Linked DNA regions of Homo sapiens: regions 1, 3 and 4 are each linked to region 2. The links are contacts of gene promoters, found by promoter capture Hi-C in blood cells and fetal thymus (Javierre and others, 2016). All regions are on one chromosome and are shown on one strand. Each heading gives the region's core, a stretch centred on a gene start or on the middle of the fragment in contact. The rest is flanking DNA. Distances are from core to core; before and after follow the strand shown.

The links. Contacts are between HindIII fragments. The CHiCAGO score rates a contact against its expected background, and 5 or more counts as called.
Region 1: a contact is called between a fragment that was not itself captured here and the fragment with the promoter of SLC20A1 in region 2, in 1 of 17 cell types (monocytes). The highest score is 5.5, in monocytes.
Region 3: a contact is called between a fragment that was not itself captured here and the fragment with the promoter of SLC20A1 in region 2, in 4 of 17 cell types (fetal thymus, total CD8 T cells, non-activated CD4 T cells and 1 more). The highest score is 7.5, in fetal thymus.
Region 4: a contact is called between a fragment that was not itself captured here and the fragment with the promoter of SLC20A1 in region 2, in 1 of 17 cell types (fetal thymus). The highest score is 7.6, in fetal thymus.

What each region holds. Positions count from the first base shown.
Region 1 is chr2:112,000,290-112,002,989 of GRCh38, forward strand. It overlaps MERTK (MER proto-oncogene, tyrosine kinase), which reads left to right. Exons shown (of 19, transcript NM_006343.3): 11 at 912-997. Among named protein-coding and RNA genes, the nearest start is that of TMEM87B, 54 kb to the right of the region's middle. The HindIII fragment of the contact is 954 bases long and covers 793-1,746 here.
Region 2 is chr2:112,644,659-112,647,609 of GRCh38, forward strand. SLC20A1 (solute carrier family 20 member 1) reads left to right here and starts at 1,281. Exons shown (of 11, transcript NM_005415.5): 1 at 1,281-1,471; 2 at 1,905-2,504; 3 at 2,666-2,806. The coding sequence starts at 2,171. RefSeq lists silencers at 943-1,772, 2,234-2,528. The HindIII fragment of the contact is 3,268 bases long and covers 252-2,951 here.
Region 3 is chr2:112,050,057-112,053,113 of GRCh38, forward strand. No RefSeq gene overlaps it. Among named protein-coding and RNA genes, the nearest start is that of TMEM87B, 3.7 kb to the right of the region's middle. The HindIII fragment of the contact is 755 bases long and covers 1,066-1,820 here.
Region 4 is chr2:111,891,406-111,894,439 of GRCh38, forward strand. No RefSeq gene overlaps it. Among named protein-coding and RNA genes, the nearest start is that of MERTK, 5.7 kb to the right of the region's middle. The HindIII fragment of the contact is 6,163 bases long and covers 1-3,034 here.

The DNA.
Region 1 (2,700 bases), core at 20-2,519, 640 kb before region 2:
TCCATTGTCATTAACTAACATCTCTACTTTCTTGAGATTTCCTTAATTTTCACCTAATGTCCCTTTAGTGTTCTGGGATCCCTTCCAGGATGCCACATTTTACAGTCAGTCATCACATCTCCTTAGGCTCCTCTTGGCTGTGGCCATTTCTTAGACCTTCCTTGTCTTTGATGATCTTGCCAGTTTTCAGAAGTGTTAGTCGGGTGTTTTGTAGGATGCCCCTCTATTGCAATGTGTTCGATGTTTTGCTGATAATGAGCAGGGGTTATGGGTGATTGAGAGGAGGAGCACAGAATTAAAATGCCATTGTCATCACTTCTTATCAAGGGTGCATATTAACATGATGTATCACTGTTGATGTTGACATTGATCACCTGGCTGAAGTAGTATTTGCTGGGTTTCTCTACCATGAAGTTATTTTTTCTCCCTTTCCCTACTGTTCTTTGGAAGCAAGTCACTATGCATAGCCCATATTGACAGCATGAGGGTTTAACTCCCTCCACCCCTTACTAGCTACATAAAATATTTGGAATTCTTCACCACAGGAGATTGGTGTCTTTTCTTCCATTCATTCATTCAATCATATTTTCATAAGTATAGACTTATGGATATTCATTTTATACTCATAGTCTAGTATTACTTTAGTTTCTTGCTCAGACTGTTACAGCTTTGGCCACTGGGAGCTTATCTGTTATTCTCTGTTCTTGGCGGTACCTGGCTAGAGTAGTTTCAATATTGCCAAGTAAGTCTAAAATAAATCAAAGGAAAGAAACACGTTTCTTCTAGGGGGAAAGCTTTTGTTGTAGAAGAGCCCATTGAAAAGCGGAAGCTCTGTAGCATCCTTGTGGAATCAGTGCCTGCCCCAGTAGCCCTGTTTTTATAGTGAAGTATCTTTGTTTTCATTCACCCAGGAATGCATTCACAGAGGAGGATTCTGAATTAGTGGTGAATTATATAGCAAAGAAATCCTTCTGTCGGCGAGCCATTGAACTTACCTGTAAGTTGACTTTCATTTCCCTTTTTGGCAAAAGTTAAAATAGTTGAGAACAAAGAAGGATCAATAGACAGATTTCTAACAAAAGCCAAAGATGTCGAAGAAGAATGGATATTTTTAATGTACAAAATGTCTTTAAAAGCAGCAAGTAGATAGCCAGACATTGCCATGCACAGCTCTGTGGGCTAATTTACTGCAATCAGGAGCTTGACCTGGGGTTAAAAGGACTCACAATGTCATGAAATGTGGCAGAAAAGAGGAACCTTCTAGGGTGACAGAAGATGGGTAGAGGCCAGGGATTTAAAGAAAACTTCTAACTAGTGAACATAATCTCAAGCCTCATTTCCTGTTTTCCTGGCAACCAACTCCGAGGATGATTTGCCAACATGCTTTATAGTAATTATGGTTTGAGCTTTGCTGAATCAGAGAGTGGGGGCTTCTGGTTTAAACAGCGGAAATAAACAGACACTAGTGTTCCTGAATAATTTCAGAAAAAGTATAGAAAGGACATGCAAATATTAACAAATTCATGCTTCTGGATGTTTGCCCCCAATAAAGAAAATAGATAAGAATGACAGAATACAGGTTGCTATGAAATAGAAACTTGCTTGGTGTAGAATATTATTAATTTCTTTACCTTTCTAGTCTGTAAGTTTTGACTTTTAGATATCCTCAATTTTTTTTTTAATTTAAAATTTTAAAATTTGTCATTTAGACCACTTTCTTTCCTTTATTGGAGAACCACTGGATAAAGCTTTTTCTCTGAGAACTAATGTGTCCTAATTATCCACATTTTTTTGATCTTTCAAGAGCTTGTTCATGCCTTAACTGTGGTCCAGACTGAATCATTTGCCAAGAGTTGTTGAACTGGTCCCCTTCTGGTTAATTTCTCTTGTTGCCAACATGACTCATCTATTATATACCTTACTATATTATATATTTTATTATAGAAAAATCTTTTTCTCCAATTCCTCAAAGTGCTCAATTTAGCCCTTGCTATGCTGTTATAATAGGTTTCATATACAGTATGTAAAATAAGAGCTTATTCTCTAGATGTTTCCTGTGGTTTGTGAGACTCCGTCCATGGCATGGGAGGGTAGGGGACGTGTGGTTCTTTTGTATACTGTAGTCAAGGGTATAATATTAATAGTAAAGAATTCACCAGAAATTACCTATTGACTTATCTTCCTTACCCCTTTAAGTCAAAGGCAAACCACCCCTACATGAATCTGATTACCGGCTGCTGCTACCACACAACAGAATGAGAAATGTGGTTCTGATTTTTGTAATTCTTCAGAATTAACCTTGCCCTGAAGGATTCATTATACTTAGTTTAATCATTCTAAAGTATGAAATTTTATTACTGGCATTTTTGGGAGAGAAATAATAGATACAAAATGAAAAAAGGGGCCGGCTATGGTGGTTCACACCTGTAATCCCAGCACTTTGGGAGGCCGAGGTGGGTAGATCACTTGAGGTCAGGAGTTCGAGACCAGCCTGGCCCAGATGATAAAACCCGTCTCTACTGAAAATACATAAATTAGCTGGGTGTGGTGGTGCATGCCTGCAGTCCCAGCTACTTGGGAGGCTGAGGCACAAGAATCGCTTGAACCCAGGAGGCAGAGGTTGCAGTGAGCCAAGGTTGCACCATTGCACTCCAGCCTGGGCAACAGAGCTAGACTCTGGCTCAATAAATAAATAAATAA
Region 2 (2,951 bases), core at 31-2,530:
CTGCTAGAGATGGCAAAAATGTGGGGAGGGCTTCAGAGCATTCTAAGCCTGGTATTTCTGGCTGGAATTTTTAAATCTCACTACAATCCTGACAAGAGACCACGACCTTAATCTCCCACGGCATGACTGGTTAGTCTTGATCGTAAGCCATATAATCAACACCCAAATGTGCATAACACATCTAAATAATGTCAAAACTACACTATATACCACGCAGGGGACCAGAAATCAATCTTTACCTCAAAAGGATAAGCTTCCAGGATGCAATAACATCCCCTTCCACCCTTTTCTACACCCTAAAACAGTAATATTCACGGTAACAGCAAAGCGGAAATCAGCTTTTCCTGAACATGTACTGAATTCTAGTCACATTCACACACGTTAATTCATTTAATTCCAGCCACAAGGTAGGCAGCCTCTGTTAACATTTTACAATTGTGAGAACGCAGAGATCTGGGACTGGCTCAAGGTGACACACTGCAGCAAGGAGTCAGAATTTGAATCCGAAGCAGTGTCCTTCCCCCTCGCAACAGCTGCGGCGTTACAAACACAGGTCAGCCACGGAGAAATTAATGACCCACAGCCATCCTTGCAGCTCTGCGCCATAACTGGGGAGACAAGCTGGTTCCCGTGACTCTTCAGTCTGTTTTCACCCAAGTGCATGACTGCGGGAGCAAAGCGACCACGTGAGCATCCCCCCCCCACCCCCCCGCTTCCCCCAGGCGAGGGACAGTGCCAGGCCAAGGACAAGTCACAGGTGCAACAACGTGCCAGAACTGGATCCGGAGCCCCAGGGCGCAAGATCTCCCGCAGCGTCACCCGGCAGAGGGACGGGTGTGGCCACCGGGCGCGGCAGGTCCTGCGTGCGCTGAAAGTGCGGCTGGAGGCGCGGACGGCTTTCCGGAGCCCCGAGAGAGGAGCTAGGAATGACTTTGGTCGCAGCCTCTGTAACCCCGCATGACGGCCTCTAGGGGGACAGCGAGGTCCCCCTCGATCTCTGGCTGTAATCAGCCGGCGGGGCCAGACGGTGCCGAGACTCCAGGGCGAGGCCGCAGGGAGGGGGCTGTCCCGCCCCACGTGGACCGGCTCCCCGCTGGGGGCGTGGCCGCCGAAGCGGGCCGGGCCAATGAGCGCCACCGTCGGGCTCACCCGGCTGGGCACGCCGGGCCGAGGAGGGCTGCGTCATGCCGGGGGCGGGGCTTCGGGGCCGGCGCGAGGCGCGGCGGGGTCACGCGGGTCGCTGCGCGGGCTATAAGTAGGGGCCGGCGGGGTGCTCCGCTGGAGTGATGGCTGCCGGCGCTCTCTGCGTGGTTCTTCTTCTCGGCCGCTGAAACCCCCGCGGCTGCTTCCTGGGAAGGTCGTGAGTCCCGCTGAGCTGTCCCCGGTGCCGCCGACCCGGGCCGTGTGCCCGTGGCTCCAGCCGCTGTCGCCTCGATCTCCTCGTCTCCCGCTCCGCCCTCCCTTTTCCCTGGTGAGTAGTGGCGCCGCCTCGTAAAGGCTCTTTCTTCTCCCCGGGGCCGGGCGCGGACGCCGTGGCGCTGGAGGCGGACGCCGTGGGCGGCGCGGCTGGCTTCTCTCTTCGCCGCTGGCCGCCTCCACTCCGCCCGTCTGCCCGCCCGCGGGCCTTTTTGGCGGTCCCCGGGCGGCGCGCGCGGGAACGGCCCTTTTCCGATTTTCGCGCGGAGGGCGCGCGCGGGCTGGCAGCGCAGGGGCTGGGCTGGGCGCGCGCGGGCCGCGGAGGACCCGGAGCCACGTGCCTCTCCTTCTCGCGCGTCCTACTGGGGATGGGGGTCTGGAGTAGCCGGCAGAGGCTATTGCGGGACCCCGGGCGCGTGGGTAGAGCGGGGTGCCCCACTGGCCCCCCAGGGGCACGCAGCTATTGTTATTTCCCCCCTCCCCCGCAGGATGAACTTGCGTCCTTTCTCTTCTCCGCCATGGAATTCTGCTCCGTGCTTTTAGCCCTCCTGAGCCAAAGAAACCCCAGACAACAGATGCCCATACGCAGCGTATAGCAGTAACTCCCCAGCTCGGTTTCTGTGCCGTAGTTTACAGTATTTAATTTTATATAATATATATTATTTATTATAGCATTTTTGATACCTCATATTCTGTTTACACATCTTGAAAGGCGCTCAGTAGTTCTCTTACTAAACAACCACTACTCCAGAGAATGGCAACGCTGATTACCAGTACTACAGCTGCTACCGCCGCTTCTGGTCCTTTGGTGGACTACCTATGGATGCTCATCCTGGGCTTCATTATTGCATTTGTCTTGGCATTCTCCGTGGGAGCCAATGATGTAGCAAATTCTTTTGGTACAGCTGTGGGCTCAGGTGTAGTGACCCTGAAGCAAGCCTGCATCCTAGCTAGCATCTTTGAAACAGTGGGCTCTGTCTTACTGGGGGCCAAAGTGAGCGAAACCATCCGGAAGGGCTTGATTGACGTGGAGATGTACAACTCGACTCAAGGGCTGCTGATGGCCGGCTCAGTCAGTGCTATGTTTGGTAAGTTCTTTTTATGTTTTGTCCTCTTCGTGGTGGGTGAGCAAATTTGTATCATGGGTGGTTCCATTTTTGTGCATAACCTTTCCGATTAACCTTTCTGAATGTGCCACTTACATAATGGAATTTTGATATTTACTTAATAAAACTTTACTATGTTTCAGGTTCTGCTGTGTGGCAACTCGTGGCTTCGTTTTTGAAGCTCCCTATTTCTGGAACCCATTGTATTGTTGGTGCAACTATTGGTTTCTCCCTCGTGGCAAAGGGGCAGGAGGGTGTCAAGTGGTCTGAACTGATAAAAATTGGTATGTTTAATTCCAAACGGCTTCTTAATTTTCGTTTTCGTCATATGTTACCATGGCATTAGGTATGGGAGGATGTGTTCTAACGTCGAGGGACAGACCCAAGAATTTTGAACTCTTAAACATTTAAAGTGGTTTTTGGTTTCTG
Region 3 (3,057 bases), core at 193-2,692, 590 kb before region 2:
TTGTCTTGTGTCTTTATTTCTACACTCTCTCATCTCCACACACGGGGAGAGACCCACTGACCCTGTGGGGCTGGTCCCTACAATTTATGTGATATATAAGTTGCACATGAAGAGGAAATATCAGAAAAACAACCTTTATGTTTACATATCCATAAGCCTCAACTCAAAACTAAAATCAGTTTTGATTTAGGGAAGAAAAAGTTAAATGAAGGCAAATGGAAGTATGTGGAAAAGGTGCTTTATATGATACTCTCAAAATTTCTCATACAATCCAATATTTTAATTAAAAGCAATGAATCAAATGTACAGCTTTTTATGCAAAAATAGCATCTATTCATTTTTGGTGTTAGCCATACCCCAAAGTCTCTCATTAATAGCACTGAATTCAGGATCTCATGATACTTCGTGTTCTCAAATGCCTTTTCATTTCCCTGCACAGCAACCTCTGAACTGTGATTCAGTTTTATAACAGCTGCAATAAACTCCACTAGAGGAAGGACTGGTCTATTGATGGGGGCCTTTCAGTTCTAGCTTACAGTCAACTATTGCCAAATTTTTCCTTATTTGTTCTTTGGACAATTTTTGTTTGCTCCAGGATTTAATTTTTCAAATTAAAAATTATATGGTAGCTGTTTTGTTTGTTTGTTTGTTTGTTTTTCTAAATCCCATAAGACTCAAAAGAGAATGAGTAAAGCACTCTGGCAATCAGTTGACTATCAATCTATTTTTACCAAGTAATCATAAATTTTCCATCTGCTGTGGAGGACACCAAGTTGGATCCCTATATGGGATGTGAGAGGTGTGAGATACTCCCTTCCTTCTTCCTTCCTCCTCCTCCTTCTTAGAAAGGCATATAAATTTTATTAACATATATACAGGGAGAACCACAGAGTGATTACCCCCTTCTTTCTTAGTTTTGGAAATTTTTCTTTTGAAATGATTTCAGACTCAAAGAAAAGTTGCAAGAAGAATACAAAGAACTCCTGCATACTCTTCATTCAAATTGGTTTTATTAGATTATCTTGATAGATAGATAGAGATGGTATACATGTTATACATATATAAAGCTTATATATATAATATATAAAAAGTTTTTTGTAACCACCAAAGAATAAGTTCAGATGTGGTGCCCGCTTACCTTTAAATACTTCAGTGTGCTTTTCTCTAGAAAGAGGACCTTCTCTTAGTGTGATAACGGTGCCATTTTCACATTCAGGAAATTCACATTGACAATACCATTTTCTTAAAGTCCTTGTTCAAATTTCACCAATTGTCTAAAGAATTTTAATAGCAAAAACAATTTTTCTGGTGTAGGCTCCAGACTGCTAGGCCTATATGTCACATTTAGTTATCATGTCTCTTGGGTCTCCTTTAACCTCTAACTTCCTCAGCTGTTTCAAGAACCTGGCATATATATATATATATATATATATATATATATATATATATATATTTTTTTTTTTTTTTTTTTTTTGGTAAATTATACCAGCTAGTTACTTTGTAGAATGTCTTTCAATTTGGGTTGTCTGATGTTTCCTTGTGATTAGATTTAAGTATGTGAATTTTTTCCTCATTTCCTTGAATAGCTTGATTAGATGCATTTTTGCATTTTGGGCATGCATTTTTGGCAGGAATATCACAGAAGTCATGCTGTTTCTTTTCAGTTAATCAAATCATGATACATATCATGTCTGTTTGTCCCAATCCTTGTGGGATTAACCTTGATCATTAAGTTGGTGTCTGCCAGGTATCTCCACTGTATAATTACTGTTTTTCTCTTTGTAATTAATAAGTAATTTTTGGAAGATATTTCCTCATGAAGCTTTTGCCAACTAACTTTAGAATAGAATTGATGATTCTTTCTGAATCAATTTTAATTGTGATAGTTGCCAAATGGTGATATTTTAAATTTGTTATTCCTTCTGCATTTATTAGTTTTCCAACTGTAAGAAAGTGATTTTCTTTCCTATTTATGTAATCATTTATTTATTTATGTTAGTATAGACTCATGGATTCCTATTTGAGTCAATGAGTTACAATCCACTACTATCATTTTGGTGACCAAATTGTCCCAGATCTGGTAAGTGGAAGGGAGCTCCTTCAAACTGGCTCCTATGCCTTTTTGACGTGTCCTCATAATTTTTTACCCACTTCCTTACTTTCTGGCAAAACAAGATTCTCAAGTTCATCATGAATTTCTCTATTCCATTCCTGGGCTCAGCCACTTCTCCAAGGATCCCTGGTTTATTTTAGTGGAGAATGATATTTATAAAGCAAGATCTGGTGCTAGATGTACCTATTGCTACTGGGGTGTCGCTGCTTCTAGGTCCTCCTGGGAATCAGTGCAAGAAAATATAAACACACACACACACACACATATCTACATCTATTTATAAAACTAAATTTTAAAAATGAGTTCACACTGATATCATCAGTTGCAAGCCAGCATTATAGTTCATTCTAACCTTCCTCATTTTCCTTTTTTTTTTTTCCTTTTCTTGCTTTCTTTCTCTTTCTTTCTTTTTTTTGTTTGTGACAGGTTCTGACTCTGTCACACAGGCTGGAGTGCAGGGCTCACTGCAACTTTCGCCTCCCAGGCCCAAGTGATCCTCCCGCCTCAGCTTCTTTGAGTAGCCAGAACCACAGGCACGCCACCACACCTGGCTAATTTTTGTATTTCGTGTAGAGACAGGATTTCGCCATGTTGTCCAGGCTGGTCTCAAACTCCTGAGCTCAAACTATCCACCCGCCTTGACCTCCCAAAGTGCTGGGATTACAGGCGTGCCCAGCCACTGTAAACATCTTACGACCATGGGTGGTGACTGGCAAGAAATGTACCTTGCTAGTTTTAAGATGGAGTTATTTTTAAAATGGTGTCACCCTGGCTCTCCTATGCTCCTGTTTCCCAATTTGACAACCAACACGATCTTTCTGATCAGCTCATCCTTACTTAAAAACCATCATTGGGGCCGGGCGCGGTGGCTCACGCCTGTAATCCCAGCACTTTGGGAGGCCGAGGCAGGCGGATCATGAGGTCAAGAGATCGAGACCATCCTG
Region 4 (3,034 bases), core at 427-2,926, 750 kb before region 2:
GCTCTCGGCTCCAAAGGCTGTGAGGCCCCTGATTTCCCACTCCACACCCTATATTTCTGTGTGTGTGTCTTTAATTCCTCTAGCCCCACTGGGTTGTGGTCTCCACGACCGAGCTGGTCTCAGCAGCCATCTCTCTCTCTTTTTGTTTTTTTTTTTAAAAACAGAGTCTCGCTTTATTACCCAGGCTGGAGTACAGTGGCACAATCTTGGCTCACTGCAACCTCGACCTCCTGGGCTCAAGCGATCCTCCCATCTCAGCCTCCTGAGTAGCTGGGACCACAGGTATGCACCACCATGCCTGGCTAATTTTTGTATTTTTTGTAGAGACGGAGTTTCACCATGTTGCCTGGGCTGGTCTCGAACTCCTGGGCTCAAGCATCTGCCTGCCTCAGCCTCCCATAGTGCTGGGATTACAGGCATGAGCCACTGTGCCCGGCCTACATCCACCGTCTCACTTTCCCTCAATCTTCAAGTGCTAGACTTTGTATTCCCAGTATGGCTTTATGCTGACTTGAGACCCCTCTAAGCATCATTTCAGTGCCCCAGTGAACCCTAATGTTTAAACATTTGCACATCATAGATATTGTTCAGCATAGTGAAAGGAGTTTTGTACCTATACTATCTCAAGTTTCCAAAAGCTATAAGGGCTAGACACTGATCCTTCCACTTTATTGTTCACCTCTCGAAATGCAGCCTCTACATGCTCTAATAATTGTACTTCCCATATGCAGTTGACTGTGGTGATTTGAGCCTTTTAAACACACAACCTGACTTTGCCTCCCCAACCTCCCCCCAACAAATTACATAAGCTGGATACTAGTATTTCCAGTCTGTTGTTCAGCACATGGAATGAAATGTCCTAGGTTCTCCATCATTACACCCCAACAATTTCAAAAACTGGGCTCTTGGCCTCCTAGTATGTGGCTGAGCATGTTAAAGGAAGTATCATGACAGAACTCTCAATTCCATAACAGACACAAGTGCCAGACAAGGCAACTTCCACTGTACTTCTCAGCACAGTGAAAAAATACACTATCTCATTTTTTTTTTTTTTTTTGAGATAGAGTCTCGCTCTGTGGTCCAGGATGGAGTGCAGTGGTGTGATCTCAGCCCACTGCAACCTCACCTCCCAGGTTCAAGTGATTCTCCTGCCTCAGCCTCCCGAGTAGCTAGGACTACAGGCATGCACCACCATGCCCAGCTAATTTTTTTTATTTTTTTTAATAGATACAGGGTTTCACCATGTTAGCCAGGCTGGTCTCTAACTCCTGACCTCAGGTGATCTGCCCTCCTTGGCCTCCCAAAGTTCTGGGATTACAGGCATTAGCCACCATGCCTAGCCCACTAGCTCATTTTTCTTTTTTTTTTTTGAGATGGAGTCTCGCTCTGTCACCCCAGCCGGAGTGCAGTGGTGCCATCTTGGTTCACTGAAACCTTCGCTTCCCAGGTTCAAGCAATTCTCCTGTCTCAGCCTCTTGAATAGCTGGGACTACAGGCATGTGCCACCACGCCTGGCTAATTTTTTTGGTATTTTTAGTGGAGATGGGGTTTCGCCACGTTAGCCAGGATGGTCTCCATCTCCTGATCTCATGGTCTGCCCGCCTTGGCCTCCCAAACTGCTGGGATTACAGGCGTGAGCCACCGCACCTGGCCCTAGCTCATTTTTCTAACAAACTGTAACACTTAGATATGCTTCTCATGCCTCTTCCAGGATGCTAAATAGGTTGTCACTTACCCACCAACTATAAAAGCTCAACAATTGGCCTTCTGTACCTTGTTCAACACAATGAGGAGCATCTTTAAATGGTGCTGCCCCATTTCCAATGGGATGAGAGTGAGATTTTACTTTTAATGAGTTTTTCAGCCTATTGGATGGATTATCTTGAAAGACACTCCAAGAAACCACTAAAGGAAATACTTTATTCCAGTATCGTGTTCACTGTGCTGAATGGAGTGTTTTACTTGTACTATTTCACTTTACAACAACTATAAAAGCTATTGTACTGTGAGGGTTAATTCCAGCAGGCCTGAAATTAGCTTGAACTGTTTTGAAGTTCCTGCGTGGCAATGACCCCTGGCCAAGAGCATGAAGCATATTGATTAATAATGTTGCTTTTTAACCATCAGTCTGAGGAGCTTCAGGGAAACTTGTACTACCATCAACTTTGCTTTTCGAAAACAATGAGATAAATGATTTGCACCTGGTCTCAGCGAGACCCCTCCAACCCCTGCCACAGGGCTCTGCTGTTGAGGCTGGTTATGCCTTAAGACTATGCCGATGACCAGCAAAATATAAAAATCCCCAGCTGAGACTCCATTTTCGATCCCATTTCTGAGGTGTTCCATGCACACATCAATGGTTTTTGATCCAACAGAGAAAGTGCATCCTGCCACGTTCCTTACAGAAATTAGGACAAAGGAGCTGGCACCTGGCCTATCTGGCCATGAATAGCCTTTGACTGAGATGCTTATTCTTACTTTACTGCTATTTGCTATATTGTGTCCTCTTACTGTAACAAACTCGAGATGTTGGATCTGGTCAGTAATTTTTTAGCAGTGAAACCGTTTAACTTCCACTTAACGATTATACAACTGGCCGGGCGCAGTGGCTCACACCTGTAATCCCAGCACTTTGGGATGCTGAGGCAGGTGGATCATGAGGTCAAGAGATGGAGGCCATCCTGGCCAACATGGTGAAACCACGTCTCTACTAAAAATACAAAAATTAGCTGGGTGTGGTGGCACACACCTATAGTCCCAGCTACTCGGGAGGTTGAGGCAGGAGAATTGCTTGAATCTGGGAGGCGGAGGTTGCAGTGAGCCAAGATCACGCCACTGCACAACAGCCTGGTGACAGAGCAAGATTCGGTCTCAAAAAAAAAAAAAAAGGCAATTATATGACTGCACTTGTGTATGTGTGTTTGATTCAATATTTCAAATGGTTTACATTACCTAAAATATATGCCCCCAAAGGCCTTAAACCTATACTCCCATTATGTTGTTCAGCACATTGAACAGGGTCTCTTCCATGCAC